Linked DNA regions of Homo sapiens: region 1 is linked to region 2. The links are contacts of gene promoters, found by promoter capture Hi-C in blood cells and fetal thymus (Javierre and others, 2016). All regions are on one chromosome and are shown on one strand. The core of a region is centred on a gene start or on the middle of the fragment in contact, and the rest is flanking DNA. Distances in the headings are between cores, read along the strand shown.

Region 1 (5,367 bases), core at 2,762-5,261, 220 kb before region 2:
AAAACTGCATCCTATTTGGAGAGAAATAAAAAAACTCTATTCTTAAACATAACTTAAATTGTACCACAAACACTCAACCATCAACCAGTGATAGGAATAAACAGATTTCAGTGCACATGAGTTTACCTATTTAAACCAACTTAACTTTCCTTTTATGTTCAGAATGAGTCACAATGCTAAATATGTTGTTGAGTCCTCACTACTTTTTCTTAAATTGATAAGTGGAAAACTATTCATTGACTACATAATTTTTCAATCATGAAGTGGCCAAATCTAGAAATACTTAAGTTGTTTAATTTGTAAAGCATTGGAGAGGAAAAATTTAACATTGGAACCAAGATTTTTTCCTTAATTTTGTCAAAATAACTGCTTATGTTGAAAACTGTGAGCATTTCTAGTGTATGAGAATCAGTATAATGGAGTGATTGGATGGACAGCAGAGTAACTCTTAGGAAGGTTATTTAACATCCCTAGTAAGTTTGTCTGTAAAAGGAGCATATATATTAGTATCTACCTCTTGCAGTGGTGCTTAGAACAGTGTTTGGCCTGTGCATTAGCTATTTTTATTATGGGGTTCTTAATATTTTTCTATCAGTGATGGCTTCGAGCAAGTGCTCAATAAATATCTTTTTCAGCCAATAAATTGGAACATGGTCTATAATATATGCAATGTTTTCTAGGTGTAATAATAATAAAATGCAGAGTGGACAGGATTAAGGAAAATGTTAGTGATCTGAAGTTATTTCCTTAAAAAATGCATATTCCTATTTCCATAAAATGTATACATATATTCAACAATAAATAATAAATTGTCTTATGTCAGTAATAGTATTACTCATAATGGGTGTCTTCCTTACCTTTTATCTGCTTATGCCATCTCCTGTCCTTAGACACAGGAAAATCACAGAGAGTACAAAGGACTCCATCTAGAATGGAATGGCAAGATTATCTTTTATATTTCTAAGTCTGCTTTCCTGCCTATTTCTTGCAGTTCTTTAATGAATCAGACTTTCTCATCATCAACATTAGTTGAGTGTCACATATCAGAAATCTTGTTCTATACTGGGAATTATGGAGTAATAATTTAAAACTTTCCTTCCCCATTCCTTAGTGAGCTTACAGTGAAACGGGGTAACTAACAGTGCACAGAAGAGTTCACATAACAGGCATGAGACTCCTATCCTGAGAATAGCCTGTGGCAAGATTAGCCCTTGGCTGACATCTGGAAACTTAGATTCCATAAGTAGTGCTTCACCCTACCTGTTAAGGATGATTCACTGTGCCTGAACTGCAAACAACACAGCTATCCTAAGCACATGCCTTCCTTGTGGGAGTCTGGAGTCTTGGTACATGTGGTTGCCTACACCCTCAGCCCCCAGTAAAAACTTTGAGCACTGAGGCTCTTACGAGCTCCCCTGGTGGCAACACTTCTTCATATGTGTCGTCAAACTCATTGAGCACATCCCAGCACACCCTGCTGGGATGAATTTCTGGAAGCTTGCTCCTGGTTTCCTCTGGACTTCACTCCATCACTCCCTGTGCCTTTTCCCTTTGCTGATTTGCCTTGTATCCTTTGGATACAAGGATACAAATAAATCACAGCCATAAGCATGGGTATATTCTGTCCTGAGTTCTCTCAGAAAGTCACTGAACCTGGGTGTGGTGAATGGAACCCCTAATATGCTACCTAAAAAAGAAGTATAGACAGAAGCTATGGGAATTCGGAGAGCCATCACTTCCATCTAATTGGGACAGGGTAGCAGCAGAGAAAATTTCTTAGAAGCATAGTATGTAAAAAGGCACTTGAAGAATGGGTGTGAATTGATCAACTGTCAGGGAAGGCTGTTTAAAGGGTTATAAGTCCAAGCCATGGAAGCTAGAAAACATAGATCATAAGGAAGAAGTTATATAAAATACTTTGTAAGGGTTTTTGAGATGGAACTTTAAATAATAGAATGCATTATCTTCAGTCTAGTCATAAAGGTCATACAATCTCAATCTATGTGAGACTGTCAAGCTCAATGAGTTTGACAGCTCATGTGAAGAAGTGTCACCTACCAGGGAAGTTCATGAGAGTCTTGGTGCTCAACAGCAGTCACTGAAGTGTCATCTGGCTTAGAAACAGAGAAATTGATCTAGAACCCATCAAGGTCCTTGAGACTTTTCTTAATGAGTATGTATGAAATGGAACATTATTATTTTTGCCATTCAGGACTGTGTCTTATAAACATGATCTTGCTACTGTGAAAGTAAAAAATTCCAAACATGGGATAAATAATAAATGTGCAATTGCTCGTGAACATCAAAAATTATATCTCCTAAGTTTTTACCTCTGGATCTTTGTACCATATATTATTCAACAGCAATTATACTTTGAATTTTATGGTCCTTGCAAAATTTACTTTTTTATTAATTTATATTTCTAGTTTGTCTTAGTAAATATAAGACAGTTACACCTATGATTCTCTCTTTCTTTCTCTTCTTTTTTAATTCAAGTAAGGTTGGTGTGCCTTGGATACGTTACAGTTGATCCAAAAGCTACAGATAAGTTATATAGGTTTACTATAGTATATGTGAGATTATCAAAATATCTTGGATGTGAAAAAGGCAGCTTTCAATTATCCATCACTTAAGTTTTTAATACTTTTTTATATTAGTGCTTGTTACTGCTTTTTAACACACATATTACTCACAAATAGGTTCCTCAAGAAGAAAAGTCAGCCAAATCTTGCCTTTTATTTCTTCTAGGGTAAAGGATCATTACATTTAACTAGCAACAGTGTAATATGTATCTCCCAAGAAAAACCTTTCAAAAGCCAACTGTCAAAAGGAAAGAACGGCTTGTACTTCCAATTCAAGTCAACAGAATTTTCTTTTAAATAAAATCCTTTGCTTTTTGGTGTGTGTAGGAAGCAGCTCACAAAATCTAATCTGTTTATGAGAAGAAATTCAAAAGCCACTAGCTTAACAAAATGATATTTCAGTTAGTTTCCATCATTTCCTATTACATTCACTAGACTTCATTTACATGACAGAGAGTCATTTCAATTCTTCAGTTAGTCTCTACCTTAAAATATCTTACAAAATTTCAAGGTAAAGTTTATAAAATGTGCACACCAGTTAATTCTGCAATAAATAAAGATGCATGGGATAGTCAGTACAATTTCAGTACAATTTACTCAACAAATATTTTTTGATGACGTACTGTGTACAAGGTATTCTATGGTTCACAGCATTTTAAATAGGTGTTTTCTTCTGATCCAATATATACTTTAATTTTACTTCTGTAAATCTTCATCTCTCCATATTTTTCCAGACTTGCCTTTAAGATCCCAAAGTACTTTCCAGCAAGGTCAAGGTGAAAGTGTTTCTTATGTATAAAATGTACTGAGAATTCTTTTCAGCTGAAAACCTGAGCCAAGTGTTTGCACCTCTGAACAGGTGTTTAATGTTCTGATTTATTGAGAGATCCATTTTGGTTTGCTAACACAATGGACCTATAAATCATCTATCCCTTCAGACTATATACCTTTAGAGGGTAAGTTTGGTAGGTTGATGAAGTAAAGTAGGATATATAATTAGGAAATAACTAGAAATGAGGTGGACTAATTTGAGGACTTTCAGAGACCCTGAGTTAAGGTCTGTCCTGAGACCAAAGTTGAGGAAATGGGTATAAATTTAGTTTAATTATTCAAGGGAGAAGATAAGAAAGTCTGAGACCTTCTTATGTCCTGAAGCATGTTATTTATATACACTCACTCCTTGGGCGATCTCATTTAGCCTCATAACTTTATATATAATCAATAGCCCAACAGCTATCAAGATATTTTTAGCTCAAATCTCTGCCATAAATTCCAGACTCAAAATGGTAATCAAATTTCCCACAAAATGTGTAATAGGAATCTGTCTTAGGTCAGGTTTATCACAGCAGATCCTGAGATGATAATTTTTTTGCAATGACTCACTATGAGAATATTCCTAGGACAAGACATCCAAGGAGTAAGAAAGGCAGCCCAGGGAAGAGAAAGAAGTCAGAATTTCCCTGCTCCTGCATAGGGATTCTGGAATGTAAAATGCACTTCACTTTGTCCCCTCTTGAGGCAAGGGAGCAAGGCTTTCATCCTCCAGTATTTGCCATTCATTGGCTCAGGGTCATTCAGGGTGAGAAAAACTCCCAGCCATTTTGATTCTCTTTACATGCAGGTAAACTGTCCAAGAAGCCAAAGGGAAGTTTTCCAAAGAGAATTGCAGTAGTGGGACTTTAGAAACAAAAGCACCCAGAAGCCAAAGGAGATGTGTACTGAACCAGTGAGAGGGACCCAAAGGGATTTTGGTGGAATACTCACAGCACCTGCTGTCGTCCATCCTTTGAGCCACCCAGATCCACATGAACTCATTTCATCCTGTCATGGATTTGTATAGATGATGATTGGCCACCGTTTCTGAGGAGAAACTTAAAAGACATTGATTAGCCGAATGGGCTCTCACTACTTGCAGCTGCAAAGTTATAACTGATTCATCATATCCTTCTTCTGACTCATTCCAAATATCCTTCATTCTTGATGATCACTTCTGTTAGTCTAAGTGGCTTGCTGGTGAAGTGTCTCTGACCTTTGAACCTTATCATGCTGTAGTTGCTGTAATCACTTATTTGAAGTTAAACCTGGGTGTGGGTAAACGAAAATATGCAACAGTGGATTTCCGCAAATTTCAAAATATTTCTTGCTCTCCCAAGTAGCAGCAACCCTACTTTCTTATAATGAGTTAGTTCCATTGTTCAATAAATTGCTGCTCTGCCTACTGGACAATATAACATGTGTTATTAAGCTCATGAGGGATAGTTCCAGTCATATGGTCAACTGATGTCCATACAAAGGCCTTTAGTCTTACTATGGCCAGGTAGCTTGTTAGGAGCTGCTTTCCAAATGGTGAAAGAACTATGCTGCAATAGTATGGCCTTGATCCAGAACACTAGGGTTTTCACTGCAGTTCTCCATTCAGATTTGACAGAGAGCCCACATTGCATTTTTATTTATCATGGTACCTCTAGTAGTATTGCCATTTATTATTGCTGTGGCATCAAGGGTGCTTGTATTGCAGCTGATATTGCTGCAGAACCTTCTATCATTCTAGGCCCCACTCAGAACTGCAGCTTTCTGAGTCATCTGTTAAAGAGGCATCATTCCAAAATGTGGTTTATGCTGTGTTTAAAATTCAAAGAGTTCTACCAAACAGCCTGGGTCCTTCTTGATAGTAAAGTAAAATGCAAAATTTGGTCTTAACTCTGGAAGAAATGCACTAGCATGCAGTAGACTACAGAATTTCTAAAAATTTCACTGATTTGTCCAGCTCCTGAAGATACGTTCG
Region 2 (6,134 bases), core at 2,927-5,426:
AAATTTTCAAAGCAATAATCCAGGAAGATAAAGTACATTTTTCTTTCCAGGAGACTTATTGCCTTACACAAGAATCTTATTCTCATTTGCTCCATACTTTAGCTTCCAAAGCCAACCAAATTTAAACAGTGGAAGCAAAAGATGAATTCAGCATTTATGTATTTTATATAATTCCATTTTAACAAAACTTAACAGTTTAAATAAGATTTAAGTAAAATTTCAGCGTTCCCAACTCCTAAATATCACTCACCCTCACATGGCAAAATATCTATTTTCACAAATCAGTGTAGACCTACTCAGTAATCGGTAATTGTGTGTTCTGTTTTCTCTGCTGCAGCTCAGTAGAAATTACACTTATCAATTGCTACTATTTAAGTTTTTCCCTCATAGCTACTTGTATTGGTAATCCTGTTAGATTTTGTTTTCATGTGAAGTACACGCTATAATGAATACTTTTAGATACTATGAGAAAAAATTAAGTGAAAAATTTAAGCAAAGTTAAAACAAAAATTATTGCTGCTTTTAAATAGACTTTAAATTGGGGTCAAAAGTGGCAGCCTGAAGGTATATTTTATTTTTCCAACAAAATGTTTATAAGTTTTTCAATTTTGAATGCCTTTAAGTGGTCTTGTATTCTCCAGTTTAACACAGGCCCCTCTAACCCTCTTATAGCTGACATCCAAGCACTCGTGGTAACTCCTTATCCCAGTAGGCACTTGAATTTGCCAATCTCTGCTTTGTCTGGATAAACCAAGATTAATAATAAATGAATAATGTTTTCCTATTTGCAGAACATTTTTGACTGGCTTCCAAAATGATCTCTAAAATGAATAATGAACTTTTCTCCAAGACAACTACATTTTTGGCGTGCTGGTTTAAAAGTTTTTGGCTGACATTTTGTCAGCCAAATAGGGTTTGGCTCCCCTATTTTGTCTTCTAAATAGGGGAGAAGGTGGTATCACGTCTTTGTTTGATTTATTTGACGAAGTTGTGTTCCCAGCCATATTGGGTAATTTTGCATTATGAAATTGTGCATACTTTAAACAAGTTGAGTATTCTTTAGTTGAAATTATTTGCTTGAGACCAGAAGTGTTTTGGATTTCAATTAAAAAAAAATTTGGAATATCTGCATTATACTTAACAACGGAACATTCCAAATCAGAAAAATCCCAAATCCAAAATGTCCTTTGAGCAGTTCCCCTGAGTAACATGTCAGTGCTCAAAATGTTTCAGATTTTGGAGCATTGGAAACATCAGATTTTCAAATTTGGGATGCTCTACCTGTATTTATATATTTTCAATTGTATATTTTAAAATATATTTCAAATTTAAAAGACTAAAATGCTTAAAGAAAATAATTAACAGCTTATATATGTTATTTATATAACATATTAATATAAAATTAATTTTATATAAACTTAATATATATTACATATATTGATATGAGTTTTTATATATAATATATATACTTTTATATATAGTATATCTTTCCAGATATTTTACTATATATATACTTTTATATATTTATATATATATATATATATATATCTTTCCAGAGTTCCTTTTACAAAATCTCAGAATGGTTTATAAGTATTTTACACATAATTTATAAAATATTATTTTCTATATAGTATAAAAAATTCACACGGTCTCACAGAATGATAGAGGGAAATTCACACTCACTATCTAGGGTATTAAATCTCCAAGACTACATTCTTCTCTTAATAAAATTGACCTTTGCTAATGTTAAAATTTTTTTATTTAATACTTTAGGAAATAGCTGTGCAATGTTTTAAATGAGTGAAAGAATGTGGGAACTTGGAAAGAAATGTTAAGAAGTCCCATGTTTTTATTCATGGGAACATTGCCTCATAAATCATTTTTGTACTATCATGTTTACTAATTGTGTGGATTTATTAGAGTTCTTTTTGGCCAAAATAATGGTGAGCTACCTGTGTTTATATTAACTACTTTCCTGTCAGCCTGTAGTAGTTTGCTATTATTTTACTGTGATTATTATTTTTTCTCTAATTCCCATCTTCTGTACTACCAGTTCTAGCCTAGTCTGCTTGTATTTCCTCCTCCTTTATTTGTCTAAAAAGATAAACAAGCTTTAATTTGCAAAGGACATGGAGAGTTATGGATACATGATGACCTCTTAAGAACTTCTCCAATGCCAACATTCCTGCAACAAGTCTTAAAATCAGTAGTGTCATATTATTACTATTTATTCTAATATGTGTCCTTAAAAGTTAAAATGATAGAACTAGTTGAAATAGCAAATAACATTTGAAATATTTTTCTGAGATATAATGCAAGAGATAATAAGTATAAAGAGTAACAACACCCCCTGAGTTAGTTGTTTACAACCCTGACTGAACATTGAAATTGCCTGGGGAAGATTTTAAAATTACTGACGCCTAGATCTATTGCCTAGAAATTCTGATATAATTGGTCTGGAGTGCAGCATGGACATGAGATGTTTTTAAAACTTCCCAGATAATTCTAAACTACAACTAATGTTGAGAACCACTGGTCTCAGACTATCTCCAGATTATGTTATTAACCTTGACTACCCATTATAATCAATGGATGTATTTTAGAAACATAGCTTCCCAGACTCCAGGTCCAGAAATTCAAATTCTATTTTTCTGGGATGGAACCAGGCATTGTGTTTCTTATGTGCCCTAATTTTAACGTGAAGTTAAGGTAAGAATTATTGCTCAAGAAACCAAGAGGTTTAACATCGCAATATGGGAAGGTATGATATATTATCATTGTGTTTTTTTTAATTGTTGTTTTATTGATGACAAACCATAACCTTGGCCTGCTAGAAGAGTTCAATGGCACAAATTTAGTTTTTTTTGTTTTAGACGGAGTCTCGCTCTGTCTCCCAGGCTGGAGTGCAGTGGCACAATCTGGGCTCACTGCAAGCTCCACCTCCCAGGTTCACGCCATTCTCCTGCCTCAGCCTCCCGAGTAGCTGGGACTACAGGTGCCCATCACCACGCCCAGCTAATTTTTTTGTATTTTTAGTAGACACGGGGTTTCACCGTGTTAGCCAGGATGGTCTCGAACTCCTGACCTTGTGATCCGCCTGCCTCGGCCTCCCAAAGTGCTGGGATTACAGGTGTGAGCCACAGCACCCGGCCCACAAATTTAGTTTTTTAAAGTAAGTAACTTTGTCTTAAAAATGATTTGTAGTAATAGTCATTAAAAGATAAACTGAGGCACATTAAAATATTAAAGCATTTATTTGACCATTCAGTGATTCATGAATCTGGTAGCTCCTGATAAAGGAGCCAAGGAGAAGGCTTTTATAGGGTGAATTTGGAAGCAAAGGAAAGATATTTGATTGGTTAAAGTGGAGTACTAGACTTATTTGGGTCATCCCAGTGGAAAGTCCCCAGTTAGAAGTTAGCTGGCAGTTTCTGATTGATTAAGCTTAAATTTCCTTTTTATCATTTACACTGATTTGGGTTTCCTTTCCTTAGGTAGGAACTCATGGAGCTGAAGCTACCTCAGCCTACTGGCCTTCTAATTATTTCAACACAGAAATAGTACTTTACGGCACACTGGAGTTGCAATTCTATTCTGCAATTGGGTGGTTTCAGATTTGTTCTTCCTATAAATTTTGGTCAAATTAGTCATTGCATTTCTTTCTATAAGTCTGAGATTCAGATATTTGGTTGCTCTGAGAAAGTCTCTGTTGAGATAGCATTGCCATACTGGTCAGATTGAAAGTGACTTTGTATCCTTTCTATTAATGTTCTGATATGAAAGAGTGATGACTCGGATATAGTGTTAATGCATTAAAAAAGCACAGCCTGACAAATCGCTTCCTATAATACACAGAAAAATGTCTAGTCTTGAATTTATAACACAGGGAAAGGTAAAAAATTTAATTATGCTTCCTAATGTTGAACATGCACGTGACAAAGTAAATACTAAAAATCCATTCAGCTGGGCGTGGACAGGGAGAGGGAACGGTGCACATCAGAGGGTGCAGGCTACTCCAACGTTTCCGTTTCCTCAGTCTCGCGGGAAGCTCCGTTGTGGGCGCCCCGGCTGGTGGCTGAGCTCAGGCCTTCAGGCAGAGGGGAGGCGAGGGCGGGGCGGTCACGTGAGAGCACTGCCGCGGTGGGTTGTGGGGGTGCTGCGGCGCCGTTTGCTTTGCCAAACCGACAAAAGAGAGATGATGGCCAACGACGCCAAGCCCGACGTGAAGACCGTGCAGGTGCTGCGGGACACAGCCAACCGCCTGCGGATCCATTCCATCAGGGCCACGTGTGCCTCTGGTTCTGGCCAGCTCACGTCGTGCTGCAGTGCAGCGGAGGTCGTGTCTGTCCTCTTCTTCCACACGATGAAGTATAAACAGACAGACCCAGAACACCCGGACAACGACCGGTTCATCCTCTCCAGGGGACATGCTGCTCCTATCCTCTATGCTGCTTGGGTGGAGGTGGGTGACATCAGTGAATCTGACTTGCTGAACCTGAGGAAACTTCACAGCGACTTGGAGAGACACCCTACCCCCCGATTGCCGTTTGTTGACGTGGCAACAGGGTCCCTAGGTCAGGGATTAGGTACTGCATGTGGAATGGCTTATACTGGCAAGTACCTTGACAAGGCCAGCTACCGGGTGTTCTGCCTTATGGGAGATGGCGAATCCTCAGAAGGCTCTGTGTGGGAGGCTTTTGCTTTTGCCTCCCACTACAACTTGGACAATCTCGTGGCGGTCTTCGACGTGAACCGCTTGGGACAAAGTGGCCCTGCACCCCTTGAGCATGGCGCAGACATCTACCAGAATTGCTGTGAAGCCTTTGGATGGAATACTTACTTAGTGGATGGCCATGATGTGGAGGCCTTGTGCCAAGCATTTTGGCAAGCAAGTCAAGTGAAGAACAAGCCTACTGCTATAGTTGCCAAGACCTTCAAAGGTCGGGGTATTCCAAATATTGAGGATGCAGAAAATTGGCATGGAAAGCCAGTGCCAAAAGAAAGAGCAGATGCAATTGTCAAATTAATTGAGAGTCAGATACAGACCAATGAGAATCTCATACCAAAATCGCCTGTGGAAGACTCACCTCAAATAAGCATCACAGATATAAAAATGACCTCCCCACCTGCTTACAAAGTTGGTGACAAGATAGCTACTCAGAAAACATATGGTTTGGCTCTGGCTAAACTGGGCCGTGCAAATGAAAGAGTTATTGTTCTGAGTGGTGACACGATGAACTCCACCTTTTCTGAGATATTCAGGAAAGAACACCCTGAGCGTTTCATAGAGTGTATTATTGCTGAACAAAACATGGTAAGTGTGGCACTAGGCTGTGCTACACGTGGTCGAACCATTGCTTTTGCTGGTGCTTTTGCTGCCTTTTTTACTAGAGCATTCGATCAGCTCCGAATGGGAGCCATTTCTCAAGCCAATATCAACCTTATTGGTTCCCACTGTGGGGTATCCACTGGAGAAGATGGAGTCTCCCAGATGGCCCTGGAGGATCTAGCCATGTTCCGAAGCATTCCCAATTGTACTGTTTTCTATCCAAGTGATGCCATCTCGACAGAGCATGCTATTTATCTAGCCGCCAATACCAAGGGAATGTGCTTCATTCGAACCAGCCAACCAGAAACTGCAGTTATTTATACCCCACAAGAAAATTTTGAGATTGGCCAGGCCAAGGTGGTCCGCCACGGTGTCAATGATAAAGTCACAGTAATTGGAGCTGGAGTTACTCTCCATGAAGCCTTAGAAGCTGCTGACCATCTTTCTCAACAAGGTATTTCTGTCCGTGTCATCGACCCATTTACCATTAAACCCCTGGATGCCGCCACCATCATCTCCAGTGCAAAAGCCACAGGCGGCCGAGTTATCACAGTGGAGGATCACTACAGGGAAGGTGGCATTGGAGAAGCTGTTTGTGCAGCTGTCTCCAGGGAGCCTGATATCCTTGTTCATCAACTGGCAGTGTCAGGAGTGCCTCAACGTGGGAAAACTAGTGAATTGCTGGATATGTTTGGAATCAGTACCAGACACATTATAGCAGCCGTAACACTTACTTTAATGAAGTAAACTAGGCTTATTTCTAAAAAGTCAAGTCTATTGGCTTTGGCCCAAAAGCACTGGTATC

What was found. Contacts are between HindIII fragments. The CHiCAGO score rates a contact against its expected background, and 5 or more counts as called.
Region 1: a fragment that was not itself captured here is called in contact with the fragment with the promoter of TKTL2 in region 2 in 1 of 17 cell types (monocytes); the score reaches 7.1 in monocytes.

What each region holds. Positions count from the first base shown.
Region 1 is chr4:163,693,205-163,698,571 of GRCh38, reverse strand. The region is part of intron 5 of MARCHF1 (membrane associated ring-CH-type finger 1); the gene reads left to right. It overlaps LOC107986325 (a long non-coding RNA gene), which reads right to left. Exons shown (of 3, transcript XR_001741915.3): 2 at 4,347-4,442; 3 at 858-926. Among named protein-coding and RNA genes, the nearest start is that of TMA16, 200 kb to the right of the region's middle. RefSeq lists an enhancer at 3,820-5,019. The HindIII fragment of the contact is 5,023 bases long and covers 1,500-5,367 here.
Region 2 is chr4:163,471,796-163,477,929 of GRCh38, reverse strand. It overlaps TKTL2 (transketolase like 2), which reads left to right and starts at 4,176. Exons shown (of 1, transcript NM_032136.5): 1 at 4,176-6,134. The coding sequence starts at 4,196. The coding sequence ends at 6,076. The HindIII fragment of the contact is 3,282 bases long and covers 3,447-6,134 here.